Regions from separate parts of the Homo sapiens genome. Here region 1 is linked to region 2. Evidence: promoter capture Hi-C in human tissues and cell types (Jung and others, 2019). All regions are on one chromosome and are shown on one strand. The core of a region is centred on a gene start or on the middle of the fragment in contact, and the rest is flanking DNA. Distances in the headings are between cores, read along the strand shown. Region 1 overlaps LINC01622 (long intergenic non-protein coding RNA 1622). Region 2 holds the start of FOXQ1 (forkhead box Q1).

What was found. Contacts are between HindIII fragments. The study calls those that stand out against the background at their distance.
Region 1: a fragment that was not itself captured here is called in contact with the fragment with the promoter of FOXQ1 in region 2 in 2 of the 25 tissues and cell types used here (dorsolateral prefrontal cortex and lymphoblastoid cells).

The regions. Positions count from the first base shown.
Region 1 is chr6:1,083,334-1,087,886 of GRCh38, reverse strand. The region is part of intron 1 of LINC01622 (long intergenic non-protein coding RNA 1622); the gene reads left to right. Among named protein-coding and RNA genes, the nearest start is that of LINC01622, 16 kb to the left of the region's middle. The HindIII fragment of the contact is 4,020 bases long and covers 429-4,448 here.
Region 2 is chr6:1,309,484-1,313,976 of GRCh38, reverse strand. It overlaps FOXQ1 (forkhead box Q1), which reads right to left and starts at 1,879. Exons shown (of 1, transcript NM_033260.4): 1 at 1-1,879. The coding sequence starts at 1,272. The coding sequence ends at 61. RefSeq lists an enhancer at 709-1,425. The HindIII fragment of the contact is 14,044 bases long and covers 1-3,355 here.

The DNA.
Region 1 (4,553 bases), core at 1,189-3,688, 230 kb after region 2:
TGGGATTACAGGCATGAGCCACCGCGCTTGGCCGAGGATGGGAATTTATTTGCTGGTTTTATTCACTTTTATATGCCTCAATGTTTCTAGAACAATGGCATTTAGTAAACATATGTTAAAATAAAAGGATGATGGAAGGAGACAATAGCAGAGAAAACAGCACATGTAAAGGAAATGCCCGCTTAGTCTGGAGGTAGCAGGGAAGTCACATGGTTGGGCACACACCTGTGCGTGTGTGCGCATGGGCTGGCACTCGTCGGGAGAGAGGCAAGGGCGGGGCAGCGAGGAGGTGTCTCTAAAGAAATTTGAACAGCAGGTCCTGCCATCAAGTCGATCTGATATTTTAAGAGACATCATCCATAACATCACTTTTTATAATCCCCAAATACTTGCTTCTGGAAGGAGAGAAGATCTGACAGGAGGTATTGGGATTTGGTTCTGTGATCTAAAAGAGCCATAAATCTTAGGTTCTTTTTAACTAGTGCAGCCCAGGATATAAACACTGTAACTGTATTTGGATTTAAGTTCCGCCTCTTCCTGTGAAGCGAGGAGCTGCTTTGCAGGGGAGTATGAAATGCACACAGGCAATCTGCATGTTTGGCGTTTTCAAGGTTCAGAGTTACCTGATAAACCAAAATACTTCAGGCCTCAGCTTCCTCAAGCTGCTAAACTCTGCCTGCCACAGCAAGTGTGGACAAGGTGATTTGAAGCCCCCTTTAACCAGGTCCCAAATGACCTAGGACATTTGGATGTGGAGGGTTGATCCTGAGTCTAGCTTTGACTAAACTTAGAAGAGAGAGACTGAAGGTAAGAAAAGTTAAGTTGTTCCTGCTTTTACAAACGCTTCTCAGGAAAGCCCTCTGGTTCCAGAAATGCTGTGGATAAGTAATCTGAAACCTCTCCAAATCCAGATATCTCTAAGCGCTAGGAAAATGTTAGCAAACATCCTTTTAAAACAATAACAGTTAATATATAGTGAGCACTTGTTAGATACTATACTAACTACTTTATGTGCTTTATTTTGCTTAATTCTCCATGGGCCAACAAGCAGAACTATTCAAAAAATGATCCTGAGATCTCAGTCTACATGATCTAGGAAATGAGCTGGCTGGAACTGGAGTTTCCCCGCCTCCTCGAAGGAGGATGTGCACCTAAACTCAGTTTCCCACAGGACCAGCCGCAAACATTCCCCAAGAGGAGAGCTGCCCCTCTCCCCAGGACCCATGTTCCCTGGGTGCCAGGCAGCTGGCCTTCCTCAGATGCCTTCTCAGCTCTGCTGGCATCTAGACCCCGACGGCCTGGCAATCGAGTGGTCCCCCTGTCTCCTTACTGGAAAGTGGTGTTCGTGTTCATCCTTCGAGGAGATAGGACACTCAGGTCAGGACTGCAGCCCACTGCATGGCAAAGAGCTTTGTCTTTGCATTGGTTCAGTTTTCCATAGGATTATGAGAAGATGGAGACCCCTATGCCTTTGGGGCCTGACTCCTAGTTTCTAAATTTCCCCAGTAAATGCCATTCCTTAGTTTGCACTATGTGGTGTTGTAGAATCTATCCCAGTGCCCATTGAGCCCCATCCTTGCAGCAAATGTATAAGTTAGGAATTACTATGTTTAGTTAGAGATGAGGAAGTTGAAGACACAGACAAGTTAGCTAGTAAGTGGTAGGATTTGAAACCCAGTCATCTGATTCCTGAGCCTGTGATCTCAGAGAGGCTGGTAAACTCAATGGATCTGGCAATTTATAAAGGTCTGAATGAGTGCTCAACTCTTCAAGGAAGCACCCATGTGGAAGTTCACATCTAAGCACAGGTTCCAATCTCAGCTGCAGCACGTAGCCTAGATTTAGTCTTCAGTGGTGCCTTTTACTTTCTCCTAAGTCTCAGGCTCATGGCACCTTGGGGCCAGCTCCATGGAGAAAATAAGCTGAGAAAAGGAAGGAAGCAACATGGCTGGGTCTACAGAGAAGACGCAAGCTTCACTCTCACTCACTGCATGTCCAGGACAAAGCATGGGAGACGGAAGCAAACATCTTTTTAAATGTGGAGCTGAGCTTGCAAAAAAGTATGGGCTGCTTCCGGGATCAGAATAGAAAAAGGAGCCCATAGGCTGAGGCAGGCTGGGGGTGGGTGGGTGGCATCCCAGGGACGTAGAGCTTGGGCTTGCAGCCGCTCAGCGTAAGCGAGGTGGGCGCTGAGAACCGTGCTTGAATCCTGCCTCTCACCAGGGCCATTAGGGATTGCTGTCTCAGTGAGCGAGCAGCATAAAGGAAACGCCTCCCATCAAACAGCTATGGTAACACTGGGCCTTTCTGCCTTTTCTGGACTGGGAGTGGACAAAAGTCTCCCCCGGGAATTCTCGTCAATGGCCCTGCAGCACGTGGAGGTGAACTATGCAGATTCAGAAGAGCTGGGAAGCTATATTCATAACAAGCTTAACATTATGGTAAAACATCATTATTAAGAATTTTTAAGGCACTAAACAATAAGAAAATAGGCAATTCTATTTTCTTTCAACCCTAGTAACATCATCTCAATGTATTTAAAGCAAAACTTGACAGGCTTACAAGGAGAAAATGGAAAAACTACTAACTTAGTTATCCCTAAATTATAATAAACTCTGTGAGGGAAGGCACCTCAAAGCTTTGCTCACTGTTTACTCCAAGGGGCTAGAACAGCAGGTGCTTGATTAATATTTGTTAAAGGAATTGGCAAATAATGCCAGAAAAAAAAAAAAGTCAAGGATTTTGTCCTGGCCCTTCTGGAGCCACTTAAGGTGGTTTGAAAGATGACAGAGTAAGTTCCCATTCCCAGGGGACGTGTCACCAGAGGCCAAGTGCCCCGTCACTGGAGGGTATCAATGGAGGCTGTGCAGTCCAGCCCTGGAGGGATTCATGTTGCCTCCTGGGATCTCTATAGAGGAAATTCAACCACCCAAAGGAACAAATTAGTTCTATGATCATGTGGCTTATTTGGATATGGAGTAATTCCTTCTTGGCGATGTCCCATGCTCAAGAGAGGGACAGTCAGTGACAATTTGGGCCTTCTGGGGTGTGTATGATCTGGCACACAGCACACTCCTAAGTGTGATGTTATACAATCTATCCCCTTCATTCATTAGCAATGAAAGGTTTTAGAGCACAGCAAGCGCATTTCTATGCTGTTTCTAGCTATGCAACTAACAAAGTTGACGCTATTAACTGTATATAGGCAATTCTGCATTCCCCTAGTAGAATACACACATTCTAGTCAAGCCCCCACGGGACGTTGCCTAAAATTGACCAAGAACTAGCCTGAATGTAAATCTCAATAACAAACAAGAATTAGGGCCAAGTGTGGTGGCTCACACCCGTAATCCCAGCACTTTGGGAGGCTGAGGCGGGTAGATCACGAGGTCAGGAGATCGAGACCATCCTGGCTAACACGGTGAAACCCCACCTCTACTAAAAACACAAAAAATTAGCCGGGCGTGGTGGTGGGCGCCTGTAGTTCCAGCTACTCAGGAGACTGAGGCAGGAGAATTGCTTGAACCTGGGAGGCAGAGATTGCGGTGAGCCGAGATTGCACCACTGCACTCCAGCCTGGGCAACAGAGTGAGATTCCATCCCCAGAAAAACAAAACAAGACAAAATACAAGAATTAGTACGCACTAGATTCTCCAGCTAATATCCAGTTAAATCAGAAGTTAACAACGAAACCCACCACCACCCCGGATGGAATGATGACAGTTCCATAGTTTCCTTTGGGATCCTTGCCCTATTCGTTTTCTCATCTTTGTCAGGTCCCCCAAGTCCAGTCCCTGCACACAGGAGGCAAGGTGGGCATGTCTGTCTTGTTTTCAGCTTTAAAGAATATGACACACGAAGGGTGTGGTTAATTGTGGAATTTTCTTTTCCTTTTTTTTTTCTGAGACGGAGTTTCACTTTTGTTGCCCAGGCTGGAGTGCAATGGCACGATCTCGGCTCACTGCAACCTCTGCCTCCCGGGTTCAACTGGTTCTCCTGCCTCAGCCTCCCAAATAGCTGGGATTACAGGCATGTGCCACCATGCCTGGCTAATTTTTTTGTATTTTTAGTAGAAATGGGGTTTCACCATGTTGGCCAAGCTGGTCTTGAGCTCCTGACCTCAGGTGATCCGCCCGCCTCAGCCTCCCAAAGTGCTGGGATTACAGGCGTGAGCCACCACGCTGGGCCCAATTGTGGAATTTTTGTAGCTGTGTTTTCCAGGTTAAGGAATTTCCCCTCTATTCTTTTTCCCTGTGTTTCAGTGAAACAACATTGAAATGTATCAAATGTTACGGTTTGACAATGCTGAGTGGGAAGTATATGTGAGTGCATTACTGTATTTTCTAACTTTTTCTATACACTTTCAATATTTCACAATTAACTAACAAACAAACACACACACATGCTTTTCACCAGCAAAACGCCCGCTCAAATGTCCTTCTTAACAATAGCAGCCAGTATGGAGCACCAGCCACACACAGTATTTTTAGATGATGCCTGTTGAGTAAGAAATTTATTCAGAAAAAAAAAAAGGAAATGAGCTCCAATTTTCT
Region 2 (4,493 bases), core at 630-3,129:
GCCCGCGTTCCCGCCTCCCCGACGGCGCGCACTCGGCGTTCCCGGGCCCCGCGGCGCTACTCAGGCTAGGAGCGTCTCCACCGGGTACGGCAGGTGCGGGCCAGGGCGGCGGACTGAGGCCGCCTGCAGGGCTGCGGGCAGCCGCAGGGGGCAGTACAGGTGCGCGCCGCCGGCCGCCGGGCCTCGGAGTGGCTTGGCGGGGGCCGCCGCCGGGAGAGGTGCAAGCAGGAGGGGCGGCGCGGTCGGTGGCACCTCGGCCTCGCGCGCGCCCAGCCGCGCCGGCTCGCCCGCGCCGTACGCGCAGAGCGGCAGCAGGGCCCTGCAGGGCGCCGCGGGGAGGAGCGCGGGGAACGCGGGCAGCGGCGGGCAGGGCGCGGCGCCCCACTGAAGCGTCGTCCCGGGGGCCGTGTCCCTGAGGCGGCGGCTGCGGAAGGGCTTGCGCAGGATGCTGTCGATGGCGAAGGAGCTGGAGAACTTGCCCGCGGGGCTGGCGCGCTCCTCCTGGCGGGCGGGCGAGCGCATGCGGGGCGAGGCCGGGGCGGCGGGCGCGGGCGGCGGGGCGGCGGGGAGGCCCGGGGCCTCCTCGGGCCGCAGCCCGGGCGCGGGGACCGGCGCGCGGTGGCTGAGGCGCTTGCGGCGGCGGCGGAAGACCCCGTCGGCGAAGGTGTACTCGCTGTTGGGGTTGAGCATCCAGTAGTTGTCCTTGCCCCAGGGCCGCGAGGGGTCGCGCAGCACCTTGACGAAGCAGTCGTTGAGCGAAAGGTTGTGGCGCACGGAGTTGCGCCAGCCCGTGTAGCTGCCGCGGAAAAAGGGGAACTTGCCCATGAGGTACTCGTTGATCTCCGCCAGCGTCAAGCGCCCGCCCGCCGAGTCGCGGATGGCCATGGCGATGAGCGCGATGTACGAGTAGGGGGGCTTGGGCCGCCGCGTATATGGCTTGCTGCGTGCACCCTCGCCGCTCCCCGCGCCGCCCGCGCCTGGCCCCGCCGCCCCGGCCTCCGCGCCCTCCGCCACCACCGCTGCAGCAGCTGCTGCCGGGATCGCCTCCTCCGCGCCCGGCCCGCCTCCCGCACTCTGTTCGCCGTCGCCCTGCGTATCTCTGGCGCCGCCGCCCGCGGCCGGGCTGTTGGCCGCGCAGTCCCCATCTGAGCCCAGGGAGTCGTCTCCCGCCGCCGACAGCGGGGACGGCGCGTCGCTGCCGCCCGCGCCCTCCAGGTCACTGCCCTGCTTGTCCCCGTGGGCCGCGCGAGGGACGAACACCTCCAACTTCATGCCCGCGCACCCAGTCCCTCCCCGGCGTCGTACCCTCTTCCTTCGCGCAGCCTAGAGAAGCTGGTGCCAGGGAAGGGGATGGCGATCCGGGGCCGGGGATCTTCGCCTTTTTCTCCCGGGAGCTCTACCCTGGTCTTCCGAGATAGTCACTTTTCCGGAGTCCTCTTCCGCTGGGCTTTTTCTCTGGAGGGGCTGCAAGTGTTGGGTGGACTATGGGGCGGAGAGGGAGGAGTTGGGTGGGTGTCGCCTTCGGTTCGACGTTGAGACTTTGGGGTGAGTGTGTGCAGGGGCCGCGGTTCCACCCTCGGGTGCCCGAGCACGCCGGGCTTAGAAGGCTTTCCTGCCGGAGAGAAGCAGCATGCGCATCTGCTGCTCGTTAAAGAGCCCAGGAGGGGTTCTTCACTGGCGGTCCCAGGTCCCGCGCGGGCGTCTTCGGGGCACGGAAATGGTGCCGGATGATGTGCGTGCCACCGTGGGGGAAGGTCCGGCGCCTTCAGCCTTGAGCACCCGCGGAGGCGAGTCCCCGAGGCCGCTGCGCCCGCAGCCGCCTTCCCGCTCCCAGCCTCCGGGGCAGCATCTCCCCGCTGGCCTGCCGCGGCTGCGTCTCGCCTCCACCTTCGGGCCGGCCCAATATAACCCTGCGGCGGCTCCGCGGGGGCGGGGCCTGAGCGCGGACGGCAAGGGGTGGGGGAACGAGGTGGCCGAGGTGGTGGCGGCTCCCCAGTTCCCCAGCTCCCCAACGGGCGCGCACCAGGCGGAGGCCACACTGCAGCGCGGCGGCAAAGTCGCTGGCGCAGGTTGTTTGTTTTGGGTCGGCCGGCCCCGCCTTCCTCCTCCCGCCAATGGGGAGCGCGCGCGCCGCTGTGGGTTTGCGCGTGTCTGTGAGTGTGCGTGTGTGCGCGCGCGGGGCCGCTCCGCCAGCCGGCTCCTCCGTTCAGGTGTGGGCCCCAGCCCCGGGCAGCCCGCGAGGGCTCCCTGCGCCCTGGAGTTCGGGGACGCAGTTTAGGCGAGTGCGCCTGGTTGGGGGGACACGCCACAGTTCCCCTAGGGGGACACCTGAAGGGACTGGGTCTAGGGGAGCAGGGACTTTGCTCGGGCCTAAGCTGCACGCGGCGTATGTGCTTCTGTAGTAGTGAAAACGATGCTGCTTACGAAAGCAAACCCCTGTCGTCACTGCAGAGGTGCTGAACAGAAATTGCGCAGGACACTTGCAGTGACCTCTTTCGGGAGCCTTGTGCTGTGCCCCTTCCTATGAGCTCCTTTCAAGGACCATCTTGTCTTTTCCTCTTGTTTTAATGAATGCACTCCTGGGCTTGAAATTGTATGCGCCTTTTTGGATGACCTTTACTCTTGCTCACTAAATGGGCTCCGACTTTCACTTTTCTTTGTCTTACTTTACCTTTTTCTTTACCTGGCTGGTGACTCCTGCGGGAGGACAGCAGCGTCCTCCTCTTCCCCTGGGGCGGCTGTGTCTGGCGCAGGGTGCTGGGCTGTGCCTGCACTTGTGTCCCTGCGGAAGCCTCAGATGCCGCCGAGCTCCGCCGCTTGGTTCCCGGGATCTGACAGTCAACAGGAACGACGGAGAGGGCGTGTTCCCGGGGGCGGGGGCAAGAACAAACCGGTTCACGGCCATTTCTTTCCAATATTCCTTTGGGACTTTTGCTGTGACCTCACTGGCACCAGTGTCGGACAATCTCGAAAGGGGGGACCGTTCCTCACCCCAGGGCGCCCGGGGCGTGATCCCCACGCGGCGTCATTAGTCCAGGGAGCGGGCGCCTCGGCCCCGGGAAGGTGCACTTCCAGCCCGCTGCCCTGCCACGCCGAGTTTCCTCCTTTTTCCTGCCTTTGTTGCACAAAAAGCGACGGAGCCGCTAGTAGGTGGGAGCTCACCTTTGATGTTTATTTTATTACTTTCCACCATTTGTGTTGAAAACGTACACAATCCTCTCTTATCTTTATTCAGGGAGTTTTGAAGCCATTCACAATGGGGCGGGCAACATGACAGCCCCAGCCACAGCTCTGTTATTTTTGTATTTGGGGAAGGATCGCGTTCGGAGATTAGACTGACTTTATTAAGTATGCGCCTCGGGAGCCAGGTGGGGAATGGCTGCTTTTTGGGAGATGAGCCTTTCTGGAGGGGTCTGCTCAGCTCTAGCCTTGGAGTTGATGGTTCACTAGACCTGGAGAGGGAAGTGGGATGAGACAAATATGTATATCTATATATATATAGCGAGGTAAAGAGGCTTGGATTTGGCCAGGGATAAAAGGCGTTCGTAATGAATGTTTTTCTCTCTTGAACTCTGGGGTTGGGCAGGGCAGGAGGGCACATGACTATTTGATGGGGAAGGTAAAGCCAAGGAGGCTTGAGGTGGGACCCGTGGTCGCTACAGAGTCCAAGGGAGGCCTCTTCGAGACTCCAGGGCCAAGGTGTCCTGCCACCAAGGAATGCTGGTCGCCGCCAGGGAAGGTGGCTCACCCCACCTCCATGTCCCACTTTCCCCCTTTCTTACCCAACCTCCTCCCCTCCCCAGCTGCAGGGGATCCTCTCCTTACCCTGATTTCATTTGGGGCAAGGGGGGCAAGGACCTGCCCCACCTTTTATGTCTATCCTGTGGGCTGCTGTCTGCAAGTTTGGAGCCTGAAAAGGTTGGGGGGCAAGAGAGTGAGTTGGAGGTGGGTGAATTCTCAGCTGGAAACCCTTTGCTATTTTTAGAGTGACTTAGGGAATGGGCAGGTGAGAGGTTGCTTGCAGCCACCTAAGTGGACTTTGAGAAGGAAGATGGCATGGCAGGCCGTGGACCACCTGGATAGGATTAAAACAAAACAAAAACAAGCAAACAAACAAAAAAAAACCCTACCTCAGCTAGAATGGAAGCTCCACTAGAGCAGGGTTTTTTTCTTTTTTTCTTCATGACTGTATTCCCCTATCCTTGACACATGAATGTGCCATTTGCTGAGGATAACATGATTGTCTTCTGTTAAAACCAGAAATAACACTGCTTTTTCCATTTGTGGTTGATGTCGGTATCAATTTTAGCTGTTGTTTTACAGCGGGGAAATCATTCACCTTTTGCAGCTATCAGAGAAACCGAGAATGTATGGAGCAGGGCGTGTCTATCCACAACACCCTCAAGGCTGAATACAGTTGGGGAGACCAGACGCTGCCAGACGTCACATGCATTTTTTTAAAGTTTCCCAGAAGTGCTTGGATATTTCTGCCC